6 separate regions of the Homo sapiens genome follow, and all the other regions are linked to region 4. The links are contacts of gene promoters, found by promoter capture Hi-C in blood cells and fetal thymus (Javierre and others, 2016). All regions are on one chromosome and are shown on one strand. The core of a region is centred on a gene start or on the middle of the fragment in contact, and the rest is flanking DNA. Distances in the headings are between cores, read along the strand shown. Region 1 overlaps TNS3 (tensin 3). Region 2 has its middle 270 kb from the start of SNORD151. Region 3 overlaps TNS3 (tensin 3). Region 4 holds the start of PKD1L1 (polycystin 1 like 1, transient receptor potential channel interacting). Region 5 has its middle 230 kb from the start of SNORD151. Region 6 overlaps TNS3 (tensin 3).

Region 1 (4,004 bases), core at 8-2,507, 670 kb after region 4:
GCCTCTGGGCTCCTTACCTATAACAGTAGTTGGGTTTCATATTAATGTGACTGTTGTCCATACCCACCCTGAGACCAGAGAAGGTGCCTTGGGCTCCACCTGGGACACGAGGGTTTAATACTGCTGCAGGGCGAATAGAAAGCTCCCTCTGGCTGGTGGGAAGGCAAAGCCACACCAGGCGGGTCTGCTTTGCTCTAGTAACTCGCTTATTCTCTGCCTTGACATGGGAGTAAGTGCATCCTTGGAGCACTCACTGTTCATGTTTTCAGAATTAGGGGCAAAGGCCATCTGCCTTACATGCACCCAGCATAGGCCACATGCGCAAGTTGTTCATAAACCCAGTCTGCACATCAGCAACTGCCTGTGTGTTAACAGGACACACCTGTCCCAATAGTTGCAACTAACATGTGTCTCCCTTGGTGTCTTCCAGCCTGCAATGTGTGGTACTTGAACTCTGTGGAGATGGAGTCCCTCACCGGCCACCAGGCGATCCAGAAGGCCCTGAGCATCACCCTGGTCCAGGAGCCTCCACCTGTGTCCACAGTTGTGCACTTCAAGGTGTCAGCCCAGGGCATCACCCTGACAGACAATCAGAGGAAGTGAGTGCCTAGAGGGAGGCAGGAGCCGTCCAGCAGGGGCGGGGCTGTCACGTTCCTCTTGTTCTTCCCTAGTGTGAGTAGTCATCCAGGTAAATCATTAGCCGTCTTTGAGGTCATGAGTCACCCAGGGTCTGTCTAGGTATTTTTCTGTCATTAAATACGTCCTGGGAACCACATAGGAACTCTTAGCATTTGTTTGCAAGGCTATTTTTCTTAGAAATCAGTAAAATAAAATAAAAAAAGACGTTTGGCGTTTTAAAATTACACACATACACACATAATTGCAAATGCAAAAAATCTTTTAACTCAGTTCCTTAAAAACACTCTGATACTATGATCAGAGTCCAATGATCTTGGAACCTATTGTTTTAACAGAGGGTCATTTCCTTTCAGGTGAGCGTATGACCTTGATATGTACTATTTCCGTTGGCCAATTTCAAATGACTTACGCCTGAGCTGTTACTGAGCCAGTTATGCTGGAGCAGATGTTCTCCATGTGGATCTTTACTGAATGCCCAGCATAAGCATGGAACAGAGCAGCCACAGGGCTGTTCCTGTCTCCCTCCCTCCAGAATGCCATCCCTGAGTGCAGCCTGTGGCCTAGGAACAGAGCATTTCAGATGCAATTATTTTGTATTGTGTGGTTGAGGAGGCACGTTGGCATCAACCGTGGCAGCAGCATGATGGCAGCAGCCATCACAGCAGACAGGCCGGCAGGGGACACTCAGACCAGCCTGGCTGCTTTCCCAGGATGCTCCCCGAGCAGGGCCCCCATGCCTCTCTGTGGTGCCCATGTCCCTAGAAGCAAGACATTTTCTTCATCTGCCCAAACCACCTGGGAGGTTGAAGGCAGGATCTTCCCCTCTGTAGCTTCAGGAATAAGTGAGTTTAGGCAGGTTTAGCTCATCACCCTTCATCTGCTGAAAAAAATGAGCACAAAGCAGAACGTGGGTTTTGCTGGTCAGACCCGTTCAGTGCCCCTGACACTGACCAGTAGATGACCCTGGGCAGGGTCCCAATGCTTGATGCTCTCGTATTTCAATCCTGCACCAAAATACCTATTTCAAGGTTTAGTGTCTCAAATGAAAAGGGCACTCAGCAAGTGCCCTGTGTGGCACACGCAGGGACAGGGTCAGGGTTGTGGCTCAACCCCACCATGTTCTCAGGGTCAGGGGCATGGCTCAGCCCCACTGTGTTCTCAGGGTCAGGGTCACAGGCAAGGCTCAGTTTCACGGTGGACTCAGGGTCAGGGACATAGCTCAGCTGTATGGTGGACTCATGGTCAGGTTCAGGGGGCATAGCTTTGCTGTTTGGTGGACTCAGGGTCAGAGTCAGGGTTGTGCCTTGGCTTTATGGTAGACTCAGGGTCGGGGCATGGCTCATCTGCATGGTAGACTCAGGGTCAGGGGCATGGCTCAGCTGCATGGCTCACCCAGGGTCCCAGTTGGGTATGGCTCAGCTGCATGGTGGACTCAGGGTCAGTGTCAGGCATAGCTCAGTTACATGGTGGACACAGGGTCAGGGGCATGGCTCGGCTACATGGCTCACTCAGGGTTCCCGTTGGGTGTGGCTCAGCTGCACGGTGGACTCAGAGTCAGTGTCAGGGGCATAGCGGAGCTACATGGTGGACTTAGGGTTTGGGATATGGATCATCTACCTGGTGGGCTCAGGGTCAGGCTCAGGGCATGGCCAGGCTGCTTGGTGGACTCAGGCTTACAGTCAGGAGTATGGCTAGACTGCCTAGTGGACTCAGGGTCAGGGTCAGGGTCAGGGGCATGGCTAGGCTGCATGGTGGACTCAGGGTCTGGAGGCATAGCTTGGCGACATGGTAGACTCAGGGTCAGGGTTGGGCTCCTTAAGGACCCTCACAATGTTGACTGTTCCCTCCTCCCTGCTGCCCTTGGAAGATATGTTATTTCTTCACAGGATCTGTTCTATGTGCCCTTGTCAGAGTTGTCTTTTTTCTGTGTCTCTTTAGTTTCCCTGTATTCTTTATATTCCCTGGAGATGGGTCATGTCCACATCAGTTCAGATCTTTCATACTGTAAGAGATAGCGTTTGAGTTCAGACTGGCTAATTCTAGACAAAAGGGGGATCTTCTCACCAACAATCAGCCTTAAAAGGCACCTGTTTGAGAGGGGCTGCAGGTGGCTGCAGGGTCACCTTGAATTGAAGCACACCCAGGCTCTGCCTCTGCCCTAGCCTATCTCCTGGCCTCTCTCTTCATCTCCAGATGAGCTTTACTCTGTGCCGGTGCAGAGTCATTCCCAGAAGGAGAGGGGTGACCCCAAAGCCAGCTAGACTGGCCCAGCCTGGACACAGCAGAGTGTTGAGTTGGGCATCCTCTGGGGACCATGTGGACTGGGTGGATAGCACTCTTGGAAGGAAGGGCTGGGCAGGTGAGCCGGAGGAGAATGCCCCAGGTGGTCATGTCAGTGACTAAGGGCTGTCAGGTGAGCCTGGAAGGAGGTCTCTATGGGGGTCGTATCAGTGACCATGTGGAGTCCTTCCTTAAGGAATATTCCTTGCACAGCACTTTATTGTTCACTCAGTGCTCTCAGACCTGTGACTGCATCTGACTTGGGCATCTGTCCTGTGGAAGGGGTGGGCTGGTAACATGATCCACTTTTCACAGGTGAGGAAACCAAGGCTCGGAGCCTGGAGGCTGTTAGTGGTTTCCCCACGATCCTGCAGCCAGCAGTGTCTGGCAGGGCCAGAGGTGCTTCCTTGTGTCCATCTCACACCCTACCAGCTTTTCCAGTTTGTTAGGGCTTTTTTTTTTTTGAGATGGAATCTCACTCTGTCGCCCAAGCTGGAGTGCAGTGGAGCGATCTCAGCCCACTGCAACCTCTGCCTCCCAGGTTCAAGCAATTCTCCTGTTTCCACCTCCCAAGTAGCTGGAATTACAGGCACATGTCACCACACCCGACTAATTTTTGTGTTTTTAGTAGAGACGGGGTTTCACATGTTGGTCAGGCTGGTCTTGAACTCCTGACCTCAGGTGATCAACCCGCCTCAGCCTCCCAAAGTGCTGGGATTACAGGCGTGAGCCACTGCACCCGGCTTGTTAGGGCTTCTTGACCCGATTCCCGCCTTCCACACGGCTGACAGTTTCAGCCTGTGTGGTGCTTCCGTCTACTGGTAACAACTGTTCTGCCCAGCTTCATGACATCTGTTGACTTTGAATGAGCACGCACTTTCTTCTCTCCAAGTGATGAGTAAAAGTATGAAATGTTTTCTGCTGGAAGAATCTTCATGTATGGGAGAGCCCGCCCAGTGCATCCCCCATCACCCAAAAGCCCTAGTAACAGGAGCCATCCTCTCTCCCCCATGTCCCAACAGGCTCTTCTTCCGGAGGCATTACCCCGTGAACAGTGTGATTTTCTGTGCCTTGGACCCACAAGA
Region 2 (4,051 bases), core at 514-3,013, 750 kb after region 4:
TGGGGGCCAGTTAGGCAGAAGCGTAGAATGTGAGAAGCCATGAGCAAAGTGAGTTTATGCTACACACTGGGAGGTGAGCACTGGGGAATGGTGAGGGATGAGGCTGCAGATGAATCAGGGACAGATCTGAAGGGTCTGGCAGGCAGTTTGGACTTTAACCTGGGCTCTTAAACTGCACTAAGCAGTGGGGCAGTGTAATCAGAAGAGCATTGCAGCTGTCATGTGAGGAATGAATTGAAGCCAAGAATATGACTAGAAAGGATGACTGTATCACAATCATCCAGTCAGAAGAGTAAATTGGGCTGGACCAAAGATGTTAAAGAAACATGATAAACAAAGGCAGGGATGCCCAGGGATTGATCTAGTGCTTTTTGTCTGGTCAAGCAGCAGCATGGAAGTGCTGAGGGCTGAGTGGACGATCAGTCTAAGGGGATAGAGATGATGTGTTTTCTTTTAGATATGTTGAATTTTCAATACCTGGGGGACTCTTAGTAAGGAGTTGGAAATGCTATTTGGGAGTTGGGGAAGGAAGGCTGTACAGAAGACACAGGAGGTTGGTCATTAACACGTGGTGGTGGCTGATGCTAGGGAGGTGACAAGGCAACTAAGGGAGCATGTGTAGCCTATGTAAAGGGAGACAGGAAGGCCACAGGGGAAGCCTAACATTTTACAGCAGAAGGAGAGTTGCTAGCTAAGGACACTAGAAGGAAGTGGTCACAGACTTGGGAGAAATCAGAAGGATGTGTGTGATCCTAGCCAACAGGGCCCTCAAGAACTGCAAAGAAATCCTTCTCTTCAGTGGATATATAATTTCTTTCTTTACCCCCACTGGAGGTATTCCAAACACTTTACTTACTTCCCACACTCCCCATCTGTCCTAGTTGGCTTGGGCTGCCATAACATAGTATCATAGGCTGGGTGGCTTAAGCAACAGAAATTTATCTTTTCACAGTTCTGGAGTTCAGATGACAAGATAAAGGTGCCATCGTTGGTTTCTGGTGAGGGCTCACTTCCTGGCTTGTAGACGGCTGCCTTCTTGCTGTGTCCTGACATGGCCTCTTCTCTGTGCATACAGGGGTGGTGGAGAGAGTACCCTACTCTTTTTCTCTCTTCCTATTCTTATAAGGCCACCAGTCCTAGCAGGTTAGGGACCCACTCTTAGGACCTCATTTAACCTTATTTACCTCCATAAAGACCTTATCTCCAAATATAGTTATATTAGGGGTTAGGGCTTCACCATAGGAATTTTGGGGGAACACAATTTAGTCCATTATACCACCCAGCTCACTCAATTTTTGTAGAAGGTCTCACCAAGAGATTTGTCAAATAACTGTCGAAGGGATGTAGGAGGAAATAATATCAACTGCAGAGGTGAGTGGGACTAGCCTAGAACATGAGGATCCTGAACTCCCCAAGACAGGAGGGAAGAGAAGACGTGAATGAGAGCAGGGACAAAAAATGAGAACAGAGAGAAGGGGATGCAAGGGGCTTTCACGTGGAGTGACACATTGTAAATGACTTCCTCTACTCCAGTGACTTTTTGAAAATTAATTTCCTAAAAATTGTGCTTGTATTCCCTCCCCACCTCTATTTTTAGCCATCCATTGCAGTAGATCATTTATGCTGTGAAGGTCTATTTTATGCCAAGTTCTGTGATTGAAGCTTGGGGAGGAACATGTGCCTCAGACATAGTTTCTCCCCGTTACAGTTTCACTGATTCTTTGAAAGGGGGCTTAGACATGCAAAATAAATTACAGTATGGTGTAACTGGCCCTGTAATACAGGTGTGTTTTAAAATCTATTATAAATAGTTGTTCAAAGTCTAACATGAGTGACATGTGGTATAATAAGCAAAGAAAGCTTTGCAGGCTGCCTCTCCCTCCTGTTTGTCTGTTTGTGCCTGTGTAGAAACTGAAGTGATGCAGCTTACAGAACTTCCAGGAAAGCTTTTGATTTTGAATTAGACTTATTTCAGGGGCCTCATTGAACTCTCATAGGCTTTTGGCTGTCATCTGCTAGTGAAATTACTGAAGATCATGAAAGCTTATTTTAAGGTGCCCAGCACACCCAGTGATCACAGATTCTGGGCATGGGGGATTGAGTGCTCTGAACACAAGTTAGTAAGCATGGCAGACTGCATGGAAGGGTACATTTCAACTGTGTCTTGAAGCATGAGTACCTTACTAAGACTGAGATTTGAAATCAAGTATTCTCTGGCACCTTGACCTTAGCAAAAATGGGACTACACTCCCTGAGGTCCATTCCTGTGATAAAATTCCTATGAGGCATGTTGAAATATTAACAGGAATTCACCTATTCTGGAGTTTCTCGGTGGTTGGTGTGCCCACGGACAGTGTAGATCAATAAGTATAAACAAACTGGGACCCGTTTTTTGAGTTTCTTCTTATTAACAATACCAGTTTTTTTTTTTTTAAATCAGGACTTAAAAAGATTAACAAATGAAGAAACACAATAAACAGATGATTGATGATAATTGAATCATGTCTATGGAATTAATTCCTACAGTTGACATTCAGTGGGCTCTTCTGTCAGGACCCCTGGACATCACTGACAGCAAGGGGCCTGGGGTCTGGGAATCCTTGGGCCTGTGCCAACCCAGAACCGGTCCCAGGCCTTTGGAAGGCACGGCCACTGCCGTTGTGGCTGCTCAGCCGAGTGCCTGAAATCCTTCAGACATAATGGAGCATCTGCTTGGACCCATCCTTCCCAGGAAGCTTCCAGGCTTCCCTAGTGGTCAAAATGAAGATTACAGGAACATGCTGTGTCTGTTCATCCAACACTTGAGAACCTACCTGCCAACACAGCTCCCACTTTTCTACGCACATGAGTAAAAAGAAACTACAAATTTAATGTTAGCTTTTGTGGACAGTAACGCTTATAGGAATGGGATATAGCCCCTCTGGTTTAGCCGGAATGTGCAGTCTTCTAGGCTGCTCAGCCACTCTGAATGTAACATGCCTTGAGAGTCAATTTTGTGACTTCGTAAGGTCTGTGAGTTCACCTCTGTTCCGCACAGCACTTTACCACCCTACCTATAATGTTTTAAATCCGTGGAAAGAAAAGTATCATTTTGATTTAAGAAATGCACGTGTGGGGAAGGACACTGATATATCCTGAGAGACTAGCAAACCCTCGTACACACCCTACACGCTGTGCCAATAAGTTTTAGATTTCCGTCTTATTTTGTCCACCTTCACGGAAATGTAATTTTTTCCATGTGTCAGATGACGAAGGCCACATCTTTCTGTTTCAAAACCATGAGTTTTTCCCACATCAGAGCCAGCCAATAGGATAATGGTGTCTAATTCTCTTTTTAAGCCACATTGAGACCAACAGATAGCATCAGTTAGGGTTAGGTTTGGCTGCATATAAAAGAAACCTGAATGCAGTGGTCTAACCAAATGGAAAGTATTTTCACCCATAAGATAAGTCCAACCCATAAACTGCTCCAAACCCACAGATAAGTTCCTTTTTGGCTTCAACCATGTTGTTCTGTGATTTGCAATTTTTGAATGTATTACCACATTTTAACAAAAATCATATATCATATAGAAATACACATTGTTAGGCTCCTTCCCGAATAGCAGCTGTTGGCTGACGCTGCCTAAGCTGTGACTGCCCGTTCAGCTCCTGCATGGCCCTATAGTGACCATCCATCCCTCCTCTGTCACGCCAGTGCTGAGAATGAGGGTCTTGGCCAAGTACCTCCTAGCTGCTGCCCTCTGAGTCTGCAGCCTCTGGCTTGTGCTCCACCATCTGTATTCATCTCCCAAGACTGCAGGAACAAAGTACTGCCAAACCGGTTGGTTTGGGACAACAGAAATTTATTGTCTCACAGTTCTGGAGACTGAAGTCTGAGATCAAGGTCTCAACAGGGCCAAGCTCCCTTTGAAATCTGCAGGGGAAGGATCCATCCTTGCTCTTCCAGCTTCTGGTAGCCCCGGGGGCTTCTTGGCTTGCAGAGAACCACCTTACCGCCATGCTTCACATTATCTTCCCCTGTGTGTGACTCTGTGTGTAAATGTTCCCT
Region 3 (3,697 bases), core at 897-3,396, 520 kb after region 4:
TTAATTAATCCACAGATGTATTAACCCATTCATGAAGGCAAGGTTCCTCATGACCCAATCATCTTTTATAGGCCTCACCACTCAATACTGCCACATTGGAGATTAAATTTCAACATGAGTTTTGGAGGGGGCTAATATTTAAACCATAGCGAAGTTTTCTCTTTTTTTCGGTGATGGAATTCATCAGTTAAGTGATCAGGTCCTGGGCTTTTCTTTGTGGGAGAGTTTATATTACTGATTCAATCTCCTTACTTGTTATTGTTTTGTTCGGATTTTCTGTTTCTTCATGATTCAGTCTTAGTAGGTTGTATGTGTCCAGGAATTTATGAGTTTGTTCCAGGTTATCCAATTTATTGCTATGTACTTGTTCATAGTTTTTTATGTTTCTTTGTGTCTTAAATGGCATCAGTTATGATGACTGCTCTTTCATTTCTGATTTTGAGTTTTCTCTTTTTATCTTATCTAGGTAAAGATTTGTCAATTTTGTTAGTCTTCAGAAAACCCAACCCTTAGTTTTGTTGATCTTTTCTATTGTTTTTCTAGTCTCTCCTTTATTTGTTTCTGCTCTGACCTTTGTTTTTTCCTTCCTTTGCTAATTTGGGGTTTAGTTTGTTCTTTGTTCCTTCAGGTACAACATTAGGTTTTGTGTTTTGTTTTGTTTTTTGAGACGGAGTCTCACTCTGTCACCAGGCTGGAGTGCAGTGGCGTGATCTCGGCTCACTGCAACCTCCAACTCCCAGGTTCAAGTGATTCTCCTGCCTCAGCCTCCCTAGTAGCTGGGATTACAGGCACGTGCCACCACACCCAGCTAATTTTTGTATTTTTAATAGAGATGGGGTTTCACCATGTTGGCCAGGAAGGTCTTGATCTCCTGACCTCGTGATCCACCCACCTCGGCCTCCCAAAGCGCTGGGATTACAGGCATGAGCCACCGCGCCCTGCCTGACATTAGGTTTTTTTATTTGAGAGTTTTTTGTCTTTTAACATAGGCATTTATTGCCATAAACCTTCCTCTTACAACTGCTTTTGCTGCATCCCATAAGTTTTGGTGTGTTGTGTTTCAATTTTTGTTTCTCCCAAGATATTTCTAAATCTCTCTTCTGACTTTTTTTCTTTGACCCAGTAGTTATTTAGGAGTATGTTGTTTTATTTCCATAAACTTGTGAATTTTCCAAGATTCTTCCTGTTATTGATTTCTAGTTTCATACCACTATGGTCAGAAATGATACTTGAGGCCAGGCGCGGTGGCTCATGCCTGTGATCCCAGCACTTTGGGAGGCCAAGGCGGGCAGATCACCTGAGGTCAGGAGTTCGAGACCAGCCTGGCCAACATGGCAAAACTCCGTCTCTACTAAAAATACAAAAAAATTAGCTGGGTGTGGTGGCATGCACCTGTATTCCCAGCTACTCGGGAGGCTGAGGCACGAGAATCGCTTGAACCCAGGCGGTGGAGGTTGTAGTGAGCTGAGATCATGCCACTGCACTCTAACCTGGATGACAGAGGGAGACTCCATTAAAAAAAAAAAAAGAAAAAATACTGAATATGATTTCAGTCTCCTTAAATTCGTTAAGGTTTGTTTTGTGGCCTAACATGCCATCTATGCTGGAGAACTTTCTGTGTGCACTTCAGAAGAATGCGTATTCTGATGCAATGTTCTGTATATGTCTGTAAGGTCTATTTGGTCTAAAGTGCAGGTTGAGTACCCTGTTTTCTTACTGGTTTTCTGTCTAGGTGATCTGTCCATTGTTGAAAATGGGGTACTGAAGTCCCGTACGGTTGTGGTATTTCTATCTGTCCCTTCAGATCTTTTAATATTTGCTTTATAGGCCGGGTGCAGTGGCTCATGCCTGTAATCCCAGCACTTTGGGAGGCCGAGGCGGGGGGATCACCTGACATCGGGAGTTCGAGATCAGCCTGACTAACATGGAGCAAGCCCGTCTCTATTAAAAATACAAAAAATTAGCCGGGCATGGTGATGCATGCCTGTAATTCCAGCTACTTGGGAGGCTGAGGCAGGATAATCGCTTGAACTCGGGAGGTGGAGGTTGCCGTGAGCCAAGATCGTTCCATTGCACTCCAGCCTGGGCAACAAGAGCGAAACTCTGTCTCAAAAAAAAAAAAAAGAAAAGAAAAGAAAAGAAAAGAAATACTTGCTTTATACATCCATAAATAGTGCCACAAAAGTGATTGATAATGGGGTGAATGTCACCACCATGTGTGCCTGTTTTGGCTGAGGTGTTGTTTCTTTGTAGGTGAATTGCTGTCAAATATAGTTTTATGCAAGAGGTATACTAGTAGCCATACCATTAATAATTGCACGTGCCAGGATTCAGCTGCAAAGAGTGTATCAAGTGCCCGCATTGAGTATCTATAAGGCATGCTCTTGACTTTCACTGACAGAGAGAAGGATGCTCCTGGGTGACTTTCATGTATGACTGGGCTTATCAGAATTGTGACTTGAATTTGATCAGTAGTTTCTTCTCAAGAAGTTAGGGAGCTACATATTAGAGGCCCTGCCTTTTTGGCTTTATATGATTCCAGATCAGGGGTTGGCAAATATTTTTAAAAACAGCCAGATTAGGCCGGGTGCGGTGGCTCACGCCTGTAGTCCCATAGTCCCAGCACTTTGGGAGGCCGAGGCTGGTGGATCACAAGGTCAGGAGATCGAGACCATCCTGGCTAACATGGTGAAACCCCATCTCTACTAAAAATACAAAAAATTAGCTGGGTATGGTGGCGGGCGCCTGTAGTCCCAGCTACTTGGGAGGCTGAGGCAGGAGAATGGCGTGAACCCGGGAGGCGGAGCTTACAGTGAGCCGAGATTGTGCCACTGCACTCCAGCCTGGGGGACAGAGCGTGAGACTCCGTCTCCAAAAAAAAAAGAGCCAGATTGTATTTTACACTTTTCAGTCCCCGTGGTCTTGCTGCAAATACTCAAACCTACCCCTGCAGTGAGAGTGAAAGCAGCCCTGGATGTAGGTAAACAGATGGGAGTGGCCATGTTCTAGTCAAACTTTGTGTTTGGACACTGAAATCTGAACTTCAACACATTTTCACATGGCATGGAATCTTATCTTTTCAAAATTTTTTCTTAATAGTTAGAAAATGTAAAACTAACTCTTAGCTCACAAGTTGTGGGAAAGTAGGTAATGGGCAGAAGTAGCTCCTGGGCTGTGGTTTGCAATCTGCTGTTGTAGGTTGTAAGAGTATGTTCTAGAAGGTGGCACTCTGTGGCCCTGGGTGAAGGTGGCCTGTCCAATAGTTTCTGCTTCTCCTGCTGGTGTTGCTGGTCTGTGGGCTGGGCTGTTGGTGTCTGTGGTTATGGTTTGAGTGAGTCCTTTTCCAGAACTTCTGCCTGGGACAGTGGTTCCTTTATGTGTAATGAGGGTGGGCTGCGGCGGTGTATGTGGAGCTCAGGTGCCGGCAGTGCTGCCAGTAAGCTGGAATCTATGTCCCATCATGCTGAGCTGTGTTTGCAGCCCTGATCATTGTCAGCCCGTGAGCAGGCAGGCGTTCACTTCTGTCTGACCTGGATAATTAAGTCATGCTAATTGCTGCAGCTCCTGGCACAGTTTTTTCCAGCCTAATTGGGTAAAATGACAGGCAGCTGCTGTGTTGGTCAGCCCTCCTGGGCTTCTACAGCTGCTCCAGTTAGCACCCACTCTTACTGTTTGCACCCAGCGTGCGGGTTCCCTG
Region 4 (3,892 bases), core at 302-2,801:
GAGATTTACTCACAACAAGCACAGTGGGGACAAAGCCAGAGGCACTGACAAGGCAGTGTGAGAAGAGCAGAGGTGGCAGCAGGCCCCAGGAGACAGGTGTGTTAGGTCAACAGCAGGCCCCTTAACCCACCACAGGGCTCTGGTTACTCACCTCATTGGCAGCAAAGTTCCAGAAAACACAGGATCCAAGGCCGGACACCCGTAGCTTGGTTCATCATTGTTCAAGGGGTCTGTGTTCCCATCTGAGAAAGAGCTTGTGCCTGAAAACGTTCCCACTCTTCTTGGTATCACTCTCTTCAGAGTGGAGAGAAAAAATATCTAGTGTTCTGAGTAAAACATTAAGTTTTCTAAAATCTCTGAAGGTTTAAATGTTGGTATAAAGAACTAAGACAACTAACAAGTGCTTTAAAAATATAAGAGAAAATGTTTCGTAATGGAGAGAACTCAGTCTGACCCGCCAGTTGCAAACAAGGAGAGGTGCAGGAGGTTCGGAACCAGATCATTCCTAGGTTCTGCCGTAAGACAGAGTGCGCCTAGTGTGTGCCTTGCCAGCCTTCCTTAGGAATGCTCTTCTGCTCTTGTGGAAGGTATCCTGTTCCCCAGTGCAGTTGTGGACAGTTACAGCTTTTTTTTTTTTTTTTTTTTTTTGAGACAGAGCCTCGCTCTGTTGCCCAGGCTGGAGTGTGGTGGCACGATCTCGGCTCACTGCAACCTCCGCCTCTCGGTTTCGAGCAATTCTCCTGCCTCAGCCTCCCGAGTAGCTGGGACTACAGGTGCGTGCCACCATGCCTGGCTAATTTTTGTATTTTTAGTAGAGACGGGGTTTCACTATGCTGGCCAGGCTGGTCTCGAGCTCCTGACCTCGTGATCCGCCCACCTCGACCTCCCAAAGTGTTGGGATTATAGGCGTGAGCCACCGCGCCCAGCCAACAGTTACAGCTTTTTATTCTCAGACTTCTCTCAGCTTCCATGTACAGTCTCTCCCTTGAGTAGTGATCTGTTTCAGGCAGCCACAAAGATCCCTACCTAAAACACACTTTTGTTTTGTTTTGTTTTGTTTCATTTTGTTTTTGAGGCAGAGTCTCACTCTATTGCACAGTGGTGCAATCTCGTCTCACTGCAACCTCCACCTCCTAGGTTCAAGCAATTCTCTCGCCTGAGCCTCCTGGGTAACTGGGATTACAGATGTGTGCCACCACACTTGGCTATTTTTGTATTTTTAGTAGAGACGGGGTTTCACCATATTGGCCAGGCTGGTCTCAAACTTCTGGCCTCAAGTGATCCACCCACCTTGGCCTCCCAAATTGCTGGGATTACAGACATGAGCCACCACGTCTGTCAAAAGCACACTTCTTAGGAAGGAATTTGTCTGACAGTGTTAGGAAAACAAAAGCTGTTTCTGCTTGGGAAAATGTTACTGGAGTTTGGATTTTTCCCTCTGTGTTTGATGTGTGTCCTGATAAGAGGTCACAAGTACAGAAGCTGGAAGCATTAAGCTCTATTTCTTTGTCTTCCAGAGGATGTAGGAAGAAGCTGGTCTGCTGACTGTCATACTTGTGACCAGCTTGCACAGGACATGGCCGAGGAGGCAGCCCAGAACATTTCTGATGACCAGGAAAGGTGAGTTATCACTGTTCTCAGAGGGTTTGGTAAGCTTGATTTTAAAGTATGCATTCAGAAATTTTCTTTCAAAAGTCATCACCTCTAGGATGTGGGCTCACTCTGGCACGAGTGGAGGCCCTGTACCAGGAGGGTGCATTTGGCCGGCGGGGTCAGTTCAGAGGTTGGAGTTGGTGTTGAGAATGGAGTTTTTTCCTGAAGGCTTTTGAGAAGACTCCTCCAAGCGGATGCCTTCAGCCATGAGAAGTGCTGATTGCTCTTCCTGCAAATGCAGGATACCTTCCAAGTTCGAGGACTTTCTGCTGCCTGGTAGTAGACAAAGTTAAGCTATCTGCTTGTCTGCTAGGTCCCTTGCATGGAGACCAGGAGAAACCTGGCACAGGAAGAGATCATGGGGTCTTGGCCCAGGGGTCTTATTTCTTTTTTTTTGAGACGGAGTCTCTCTCTGTTGCCCAGGCTCGAGTGCAGAGGTGCGATCTTGGCTCACTGCAAGCTCTGCCTCCTGGGTTCATGCCATTTATCCTGCCTCAGCCTCCCAAGTAGCTGGGACCACAGGCGCCCACCACCACGCCCGACTAATTTTTTGTATTTTTAGTAGAGACGGGGTTTCACTGTGTTAGCCAGGATGGTCTCGATCTCCTGACCTTGTGATCTGCCCGCCTTGGCCTCCCAAAGTACTGGGATTACAGGCATAAGCCACCGCACCCAGCCTCCATGGGTCTTATTTCTAAACCCTCTTCCCCATGCTCTGTGCGCGCCAGCACCCATGTGTTGTTGAGGCTGGGCAGCCTGTGTGCTCTGCTGTTGACTGTCTCATGGCAGTGTGACATGGTGCAAACCTCCATGCCCCCTTTCCTGGGCGTGAGGCCAGCAAGGTGACCTGCCTGTGGGATGTGGTAAGGACCCAGGTGGGTCACCGCTGTCCCCTGGCCTGGCATGATGGGAGCCTGTGCCTGCAGATCTTGCCCAGTGGGGTACCCCGCCACTGCAGGTCACTTTACCTCCTCACCCCCAGATTTCTCATCCTGAAAATCTGAGTACCCCTGTTGTCACATCTGTAAACTCCAGAGGGTCGTTATAAAAATCAGTATCCTTGATGAATGCTTGCTGTCAGCATTTCTGCCTTTGTTAGCTTACTGTCTTTGTGCCATCACCATCATTTTATCAAAGAAACCCAAAGCAAACCAGGATGAGAAAATGAGGCTGCACGTGTTGACGGGGTTGGTCACATTCATGCTTGGAAATTTCTTTGCCTTATGTCACTCACTGCTGCCAAGCATTGTCTGATTTTGGCTACAATTTTTTCCCTTATTTTTTCTGGTTACCTCATGTTTCTTTTATTCCAAATGCCCATGCTCCTGCAGACTCCCAGAGCCTTGATGTTGGCCCAATTTGACCTTCACTCTTATCAGTCAGGGAATTGCAAGGAATTACCCCTTTGCCCTTAGAAAGGAAAGAAAAGCTGAGGAGCGGAAGTCGCTGACTTGATGTTTTTTCCCCTGTATATTTATACATCTTGTACTTGCAGACCAACTAGTTCATGCACGCACTAGCCATTGTAATTGGTGTCGAGGCCCCATTTCTGAAGTCATAGCCTTTTGGGGTTTCCTGAGTCACCTAAAGCAAGACAGTGACTGATCTTGTTCATAGAAACAGAAGAGGTTTCTTGACTCTCCTGTAGCCCTCATTTCATGGAGTTAGGCCTGTAGTGTCTGTGTGTGTGTGTGTGGTATAGGACATGTGTGTGGGTGGTGTGGTGTGTGGTCTGTGTGTAGTGTGTGGTGTATGTGTGGTATGGTATGAGTGGGGTATGGTGTGTGTGTGATACATGGTGTGTGCTGTGTGATGTGTGTGTAATGTGTTGGTGTGTGTGTGGTGTTTGTGTGTATGGTGTGTTTGTGTGGTGCGTGGTGTGTGGTGTGTGCGATGTGTGTGTGGTGGGTGGGTATGTGCTGTGTGGTGTGTGTATATTGTGTGTGATGCTGTGTGGTGTGTTTGTGTGGTGTGAGTGTGGTGTGGTGTGAGTGTGTGGTGTGTGTTTGTGTGGTAGGTATTTGTCCTAATGCTCTCCCTCCCCTTGCCCCCCAGCCCCTGACAGGCCCCGAAAAACACTCACTCTTAAGGGATTCTAAGAGATCTGTCATGTAATTCAAACAAATGGCTCGACTAGTTCCCTTGAGGCACATGATGCCTCAGAGACTGTGTTTGAGCCATCAGTATCATCCTGTTCCCCGACAGTCACAGTTAACTAAGAGGAAGCCAGGTACCTCTG
Region 5 (3,700 bases), core at 432-2,931, 710 kb after region 4:
CATCTTAGGGCATGATTTTTAGTAATTTCTCATATCTTGATGGCCTTGCTCTCTGCAGTGTCATTGTGTCACTATTTGGAGCTTTCTCAGAAGAATAAGTGCAATGATTTCATGCATCAATACAAATATTATAAACAAAATAACGCATTTATAAAATATTGGACCTAAGTGGAGAGGTGAAGTGTCTTACACAAAGTTACCCAGTTTGTTGTTCATGAATGTGGTTCAAATTTTTGGATATTTTTTACCTTAAGGTTACTGCCATTGGAGCATTCTGCCTGCCCACCCCCCAGCCTTCTGGTAATCAGTAGTCATTGCAGTACTAATTGTAATAATATAGGTAAGTGCGAGATTTCTCTGCCTCATGAAAAAAATTTGGGAAACTTTATTCGTAGAATAATGTATACTGGCACAGTTGGAGCAAACTATGTGTATCTTAAGCATAACTCAAAAGGACGTATTTGACTAAGCCTTTTATAAGAGAAAAATCCCTTCTCCCACTGAAGACTGTACAATGTCTTAGCTCATAACAGGACATAGAGGTATTACAGGAAGTTGTAAGTCTGCCAGTAAGACTATGCTTTAAATTCAGAGTAGTTTTGAACATAGGAGATATATCTTAGGTTTTTTCCCATGTCAGTTTTAACAGATCAGACAAATGTCAAAATTGTGTAATCTACAGGTCATCTAAAAAAATTATTGCCTATGTATTTATTTAGTCAGTGCGCTTACTAATTATCTAGTGCTGTATTTTCTACTAGGCACTAGGGACAAAATGGTGAGCAAAAGAAGATGACACTATTTATACCCTCATAGACTCTTAGGAACTGAATGTTTGTGTCCCTCCCTGCACACCCCTAATTCATATCTTGAAGCCCTAACCCCCAGCATGGCTGCACAGTTGACCTTCAAACAGCATGGGGGTTAGGCGTACTAACCACTGCACAGTTGAAAATTTGCATATAACTTTTAACTCTCCCAAAAACATAACTACTAAAAGCTTACTGTTGACCAGAAGCCTTACTGATAACATAGTTGAGTAAGACACTTTTTGTATGGTTAAATGCATTACATACTGTATTCTTACAATGAAGTTAGCTAGAGGAAAGAAAATCTTATATGAAAAGCATAAGGAAGAGAAAATATATTTAGTACTCATTAAATGGAACTGGATCATTATAAAGTCATCATCCCTATCATCTTCATATTGAGTAGGCTGAGGAGGAGGAAGAAGAGGAAGAGGAGCAGTTGGCCTTGCTGTCTTAGGGGCAGAAGAGATGAAAGAAAACCCATGTGTAAGTGGACTCACACTGTTCAAACCCGTTTTGCTCAAGGATCAACTGTATTTGGATATGGGGTTTCCAAGGAAGTAATCCAGGTTAAATGAGGTCCTAAGGGTGGGGCCCTGATCTGATAGGATTCATATTATAAAAAGAGATGCCAGAGAGCTTTCCATCTCTCTTCCTCCACATTAGCACAGAGGAAATGCCATGTGAGGACAAAGGATGAAGGCAGCCATTTAGAAAGAGAGCCCTCACTAGAACCTGACTGCACTGGCCCCCAAATCTTGGATTGCAGCCTCCAGAACTGTATGAAAAATAAATTTCTGTTGCTCAAGCTGCTCAGTCTGTGTTATTTTGTTATAGTAGCCGAAGCTAACGAACACATGGACTTACAGTCTAGTGAGGAGGGCTATGAGAATGGGCCAGGAGAGTTGAGAGGCCAATAGAAACTTGAACAGCTTTCACTATTACTTAGATAAGAGGCAATTAGGATGAACGCAGTTGGAATATTTTTGAGATAGATTGTCTTCTTCTCTTCAACCTATTGGGGAGGAAACTGAGGACCAAGCCAAGCACTAAGAAGTAGCACAGTTCAAAGCCCATTGCCTTTGCACACTGTGGTTCTTAGAGGAAAAAAGATTGCATTTCAGTTGACTATAGCAGCTACATCCATCATTTCTTCTCCTTTTTACCCTCCAATTCCATCACATAATTCTCATTATATTTGTCAGGGTACAAATGTCCAAAAATATTCCCAACAATCTTTCCTCCTAATGTGTTTCCTTATTAGTCTTTTTTACTTTATTAGAAATATATGAAATGTTTAAACTAGTGAAAATAGTCAACACTTTGATTGTCAGAAACTCCAAGTAACAAAGAATTCTAAACATCAATGCACCCAATACAGAAAGAAAACTGGAAAGAAAAATTGACTGTTCAAAAGCAAACACCATCTAAATTGTGGCTTACTTTGGCACAGAACGAGTTCATGCTGTGATTCCTTTAAATACTTTTCACTTGCAAGGCTGGTTCAGTTTGCTGAACACAACATCACCTGATCAGAAGCCATGTGAAGCTTACTTACAAGGGCAGATAGATGGAAAGGTGGGAATTTTCTGGTCTAATATTATTTGTGTTAATGGGAACTTGAATGTTTTTAATTGTTCACTTCTCATGTAAGCCTATTTTACTTTTCAAATCAAGATGCATTCTTTGTTGTATTTTGAATATTTCTTTGATTTCTGCAATTGATGTTTTAAATCTACTCAGCTTCCTGTTCCACATTGAAAGTACTTGAAAATGAGCACACGAGAGTATCAGCGTAGGTCTTGCTAAGTCTCAGTAAAACATGCATAATCTATATTTCTAGTTGAATTTAAAGTCCTTATAGCCAAACATATTTAATACATCTTCTAACTCAGGGATCAGCATCAGGCCCAATCCAATCCACTATTTTGTTAAATAAAGTTTTCTGGGGCACAGTTACGCCCATTCACTTACATCTTGTCTGTGGCTGCTTTTGCACCTCAGTGGCAGAATTAAATAGTTCCTATAGAGACTGTATGGTCCACAAAGCTCTCATCCTTTACAAAAAAGGTTTGCTGAACCCTGTTCTAACTAGAAACATTTGAGAAAAAGCAAGAGAATCTGAAGGCCACATAAGAGTGGCAGCTCTTTTCCAAATGTCTCCATTACTGTGTAGAGTCTTTACATACTTTAGATCATTTAATTGTTTCTTAGAAGAGTTCTGTTGAGTGGTTGTTATTAGTCCCATTTTACAGATGAGCAGACAGGCATAGGGTATGACCCAGCCCAAAGTTATCTAAACAGTATGTGGCAAAGGCAAAATTAAAACCAGGTTTTTCTGGTTTCAAACTTCAAGTCTGTACACTAGAATACAAGAAGGCCTTCTATGGGTATTGTATGGACACGTTTCCGAGTTTACTGTGGGAAGAGCATGGATGTTTTTCAAACCATTTTCAGTGGGATGACATGCACCAGGAGATGTCAGTAGTGTCCCACGAAGGGAAGATAGTATATGAACATGAGACACTGGTGTGGGCACCACACTTACTAATTAAGCTCTAAATTTATATTATATCATATATTGCATTTCAGAATTTCAACACATACTTGTGTTAGTTTGCTGGGACTGCCTTAACAAAGCAACAGAAATGTATTCTCTCAGGATTCTGGCCGATAGAAGTCTGAAATCAACACGGCAGCCTTGTTGATTCCTTCTGAGACTGTGAGGGAGAATCGGTGCTGGGTCTCCGCCCTAGCTTTTGTGGTTTGCTGGCAATCTTTGGCATTCCTTGGCTTGTGGTGGCATAACTCTGACCTTCACAAGGCATTTTTCTTGCCTCTATGTCTGTTTCCAAATTTCTCCTTTTTATAAGGACATGGTCATATCGGAT
Region 6 (4,252 bases), core at 534-3,033, 630 kb after region 4:
TTTCTGTTGGTTCAGTCACTGTGTGGTATTTTTTATAGCAGCCCAAGCTGACTAATACTCCCAACTCGTGGAATACCAGGATTCCTCTTAACTCACAGAGCTGTGGACAGAGTGAAAAGGAAAAGGAATGAGGTTCGTGCTAATGAGCTAGAGGTGGGAAACCCAAGAATCATGTTTGAGTCCTGCTCCAGCTGGGTGGTGCGTGTGTTTCCCTCCAGGTGCAGGTGAGGGGAAGTGCTGAAGCCTCGGCCTCCTCACAGGTATAGATGGACGAGAGTGCACACCTTTAAGAGTTGTTCTGAGGGTCAAGTAAGCCCACTGAGCACCGCGCAGATAGTCACTATTAGTAAAATAGTGATAATTTATAAAGATAACTTATGTTTTCTGAACAAAGATAAAATGCATTCTGAGTCTCTGTTTATATTTACTGCAATGAGAGTACATCTTTTTGTTAACTGAGTGAAGGGTTTAAGTGAAGCTGAGGTTTCGAATTCTTACCTAACACAGGATTCCCAGTGTTGCATTCCTCATTGCTCACAGGACGCTTTAGAAATACTGGGTGAAGATGGCAACGCCTGGTTAGGGACCTGGTTAGAGTCTGACCAGTGATATTCTCTCAAAAGCAGCAGTCTTCCAGTTTCTGAAACTACATGAGAAACCCCCATTAGCTGCCTGTGGTCCCTGGCACATGGGCTGGTGGGCATAAGGGATGCAGATGCCCCGAGTGCCACAGGGGTTCTTAGACAGGCAGGTCCTTTAAGGGTGTCTTTGATTCTATTCAGGTCCATTGAAATCTGCCACATAGAATAAGGTTTTCAAGTCATGGTAAGAGACTTCTGAGATTACAGGGGAGGTTTCTCCCCCTGGGCCTTATGTGATTTAGACTTCCATGGTGCAGTCATTGATACAGTTTGGATATTTGTCCCCTCCATGGGGGCAGATACTTCATGAAGGGCTTGGTGCTGTCCTCATGGTAACGAGTGAGTTCTCACTGTTAGTTCACACGAGAACTGATTGTCAAAAAGAGCCTGGCACCTCCCCTCCTCTCTCTCTCTCTCTCTGTCTCTCTCTCTATCACTCTCTCACTCTCTCTCTCTCGCCTTCCTCTCACCATGTGATGCCAGCTTCCTTTCACAAGTCCAGTGGGAGTGGAGGTAGACAGGAATGCACTGGCATGGGGTGGTTAGGCCAGGGTGAGGGTGTGCAGAGTGCACATCAATGGAAGCTTCCTGAGGCCCTCACCAGGTGCAGATGCTTTTTCTACAGCCTTCAGAACCGTGAGCCAAATAAACCTCTTTTTAAAATAAATTGCCCAGCCTCGGTTGTTCCTATATAGCGGTGCACATGGACTCAGACAGTGGTTGTAGGACAAAATGATGATCCTGGACCAGGACTCCTCGGGACTTCAGCTGTTGAGCCACCAGGCTAAAGTGACCTTTCCTTAGAAGGGCTGTGGCAAAGTTCAGCACATGTCATCTGTGTCCCATGTGCCGTTTCTAAAGGAAAGCCAGATTCTCTGGGAATTCTGCCTGAAAACAGAAAACATCAAGACTTCCTGTCCTGTGGACAAGTCCAGTTATGAGACTGGAATTATTCTGCGGACTAAAGACTTGGAACCAAGCATCTTAGGTACAGCCTCTTCATTGGCATAGACCCTCGCCGGTATCATCTTGAGCTGCCTGAAGCTTTCTCTGACCGCTGTCCACTCCTGTGTGGACGTGGTGTATACATTATGGTAACCTCCATTCTCCATCATGATAATCAGCCCAGGGCTCTCAAAGCCTCTTATGCAGGTTCTCTCTCTGCTTGTGAAGGGCAATACTTCCTCTGTTTGTGGGTTTTTGTTTTTGTTTTGTTTTGGCTCAGCATAAGGAAAGCTTCCCTGAGGAGGGTCAGATGGCTCTTTTCTTTTCTGGTGCTGCTTTGCATACCCTCACCCTGGCCTGACTGCCCTGTGCTGGTGCATTCCTGTCTGTTTGCACTCCCACTGGACTGGAAGCAGCTTTGAGGCAAGGACATTGTGTCACTGAGTCTGTTTCCTGTTGCAAGTAACCAGTCCCAACTCAAACTGGCTAAAGGAACAAGAGAGGAGAAAATGTAACTGTTCGCAAAGTCAAAGGGTGAAAGCTATCGAGTGTCCAGGGACAGCTGAATGGATAAACAAAATGTGATCTATGCATGCAGTGGAATATTACTCAGCCTTAAAAAGGAAGGACGTTCTGACACGCACTACAACATGGAAGAACTTCAGGGACATTGTGTTCAGTGAAGTAAGTCAGTCACAAGAAGACAAATTCTGTATGATTCCACTTACATGAGGTCCCTAGAGTCATTGAATTCATACATACAGAAAGTGGGATGGTGGGGACTTGGGTGGAGGATAGGAAATTATTTCAATGGGGAAAGAGTTATAGTTTTGTAAGATTATAAAGTTCTGGAGATAGTTGGTGTACGAAAAAGTGAATGTACTTGATGCTACAGCACTGTACACTTAAAAATGGCTAAGATGGTAAATTTTGTTATGTATGTCTTATCACAATTTGAGAAAAATAACGAAACTCACTGAGCAGCTGTGGGTGGCTGTGGCCTCAGATTTGGCTTCATGAGGACTCCTTGGCCACTCAGCGGGTGGGTCTCTCTCTCTGTCTCTCTCACACATTTATTTCCAGTGACTCCCTAGACCCTGATCTTCTCAGCTGTGTGTTGGCTCTGTCTGCAGGCTTGATGTGGTCTCTAGGCAGCCTCAGTAGCTCCACTTCAGTGTCATCTTTCTTTAAAGTCTAGAAGGAAGGAAGTCATTTGTTTTCTTGAGAACTCAAACCAAAGCACATTTTTTTACAACTCTCATCCCTTGTAGGTTGCTAAGGGACTATGTGAGTCCCTGGAGGAACTGGCCTCACTTAGTGCATCCCAAGTGTAAAAACTGCTTGGGAAACACTCACTATGAAGAAAAACGCTGTTTTCACTGTTTCAACATTAGAATTCTCTACACAACACCAACTAAACTGGTAAATGTGTTTTCTTTCCAGTCTGATCAAAACCTTGAATATAAATGGGACATCTTCAAAGAATAAGAGAAAATAGGGCTCCAACTGTAATGAACTATTGCATCTACATTTTCTACTTCCTTTTGTGTTATTGCTTAAAAGGAAGACTGTGGCATGGTCTCTTTTGAAGGGGATAATTCCAATTGTGATGAGAATGTCATAAAAGGGTCACCCGGCTTTTGGTGGACAGGATTCCCATTTCAGCCCTGGCTGGAGCAATTCTGGCTTCACTGGGGGAATAAGAACCTTGCTTCCTTTAAAAAGACAGAAACAATTTATCCTTTTGAGAGCATTTCTCATATTTGCTGAAATCAGTTGACCTTAAGCTGTAGAACAAATTTCATATTATTTGTATTATGTTGACATCAGGATTTTAAAAAGAAAAGATTCAACACCAAGAAAGTATTTATTTATCCATTTGTGGGTTTTTCATCATTTTTGTTTGTTTGTTTGTATCTGTAGGACTTTGATTCTCATCGGAAACCATGAAAATGCTTTTCCAGTGTTGGGGTGGTCACTAATTAATTCTCATTATATCTGGCTGCCTGCCATTTTCTCTTTGCTTTCAAGAAGGTTGGTTAAATGGCCTGATTGTTCATAGACAAATAACAAAAGAATTATAGGATAATGACTTTTTTTTTTTTTTTTTTTTGAGATGGAGTCTCGCTCTGTTGCCCAGGCTGGAGTGCAGTGGCACGATCTTGGCTCACTGCAACCTCCACCTCCCGGGTTCAAGTGATTTCTGGCTAACTTTTGTATTTTGAATAGAGACGGTGTTTCACAATGTTGGCCAGGCTGGTCTCAAACTCCTGATCTCAAGTGATCTGCCTGCCTTGGCCTCCCAAAGTGAAGATAAGGACTTTAAAAAAAAAAAACAAAAACAAACAAACAAAAAAATAAAACTAATCACTACTGAGGAAACTCCAATACAAAGTCTTGCTTTTCTAAATTAGAATTTAAAAATTCCTAGCTAAATAAACCCTAGAAATCATCTAATCTGATCCCAATTGAAGTGAGTCTGTAAATGAAGATCCTGAAGGCCCCAGGGGTTGACAATGTGCCCAACACCCCATGGTTTATGGCAGAAGAGCTCAGGCTAGAACTTGGAGATCTGAGCTGTTTCTCTGCAGCAGCCCCAATTCCCCGCCTAGAAATGTAATGGAAGAAGGATACGAGAGATTTGATGTTCCATTTTTTTAGAACTC

Evidence for each region. The method cuts DNA at HindIII sites, captures the fragments that hold promoters and counts their contacts. A CHiCAGO score of 5 or more calls a contact.
Region 1: a contact is called between a fragment that was not itself captured here and the fragment with the promoter of PKD1L1 in region 4, in 2 of 17 cell types (total B cells and naive B cells). The highest score is 12.2, in total B cells.
Region 2: a contact is called between a fragment that was not itself captured here and the fragment with the promoter of PKD1L1 in region 4, in 2 of 17 cell types (naive B cells and total B cells). The highest score is 6.2, in naive B cells.
Region 3: a fragment that was not itself captured here is called in contact with the fragment with the promoter of PKD1L1 in region 4 in 1 of 17 cell types (total B cells); the score reaches 6.4 in total B cells.
Region 5: a contact is called between a fragment that was not itself captured here and the fragment with the promoter of PKD1L1 in region 4, in 2 of 17 cell types (total B cells and naive B cells). The highest score is 8.5, in total B cells.
Region 6: a contact is called between a fragment that was not itself captured here and the fragment with the promoter of PKD1L1 in region 4, in 2 of 17 cell types (naive B cells and total B cells). The highest score is 7.8, in naive B cells.

The regions. Positions count from the first base shown.
Region 1 is chr7:47,280,292-47,284,295 of GRCh38, reverse strand. TNS3 (tensin 3) reads left to right here. Exons shown (of 31, transcript NM_022748.12): 28 at 431-599; 29 at 3,942-4,004. Among named protein-coding and RNA genes, the nearest start is that of SNORD151, 180 kb to the left of the region's middle. The HindIII fragment of the contact is 9,538 bases long and covers 1-4,004 here.
Region 2 is chr7:47,194,496-47,198,546 of GRCh38, reverse strand. No RefSeq gene overlaps it. Among named protein-coding and RNA genes, the nearest start is that of SNORD151, 270 kb to the left of the region's middle. The HindIII fragment of the contact is 198 bases long and covers 1,665-1,862 here.
Region 3 is chr7:47,428,559-47,432,255 of GRCh38, reverse strand. All of the region lies in intron 8 of TNS3 (tensin 3), which reads left to right. Among named protein-coding and RNA genes, the nearest start is that of SNORD151, 34 kb to the left of the region's middle. The HindIII fragment of the contact is 8,256 bases long and covers 1-3,697 here.
Region 4 is chr7:47,946,125-47,950,016 of GRCh38, reverse strand. PKD1L1 (polycystin 1 like 1, transient receptor potential channel interacting) reads left to right here and starts at 1,551. Exons shown (of 57, transcript NM_138295.5): 1 at 1,551-1,620. The coding sequence starts at 1,577. The HindIII fragment of the contact is 5,981 bases long and covers 1-1,656 here.
Region 5 is chr7:47,232,805-47,236,504 of GRCh38, reverse strand. No RefSeq gene overlaps it. Among named protein-coding and RNA genes, the nearest start is that of SNORD151, 230 kb to the left of the region's middle. The HindIII fragment of the contact is 1,358 bases long and covers 1,003-2,360 here.
Region 6 is chr7:47,316,225-47,320,476 of GRCh38, reverse strand. All of the region lies in intron 20 of TNS3 (tensin 3), which reads left to right. Among named protein-coding and RNA genes, the nearest start is that of SNORD151, 150 kb to the left of the region's middle. The HindIII fragment of the contact is 192 bases long and covers 1,688-1,879 here.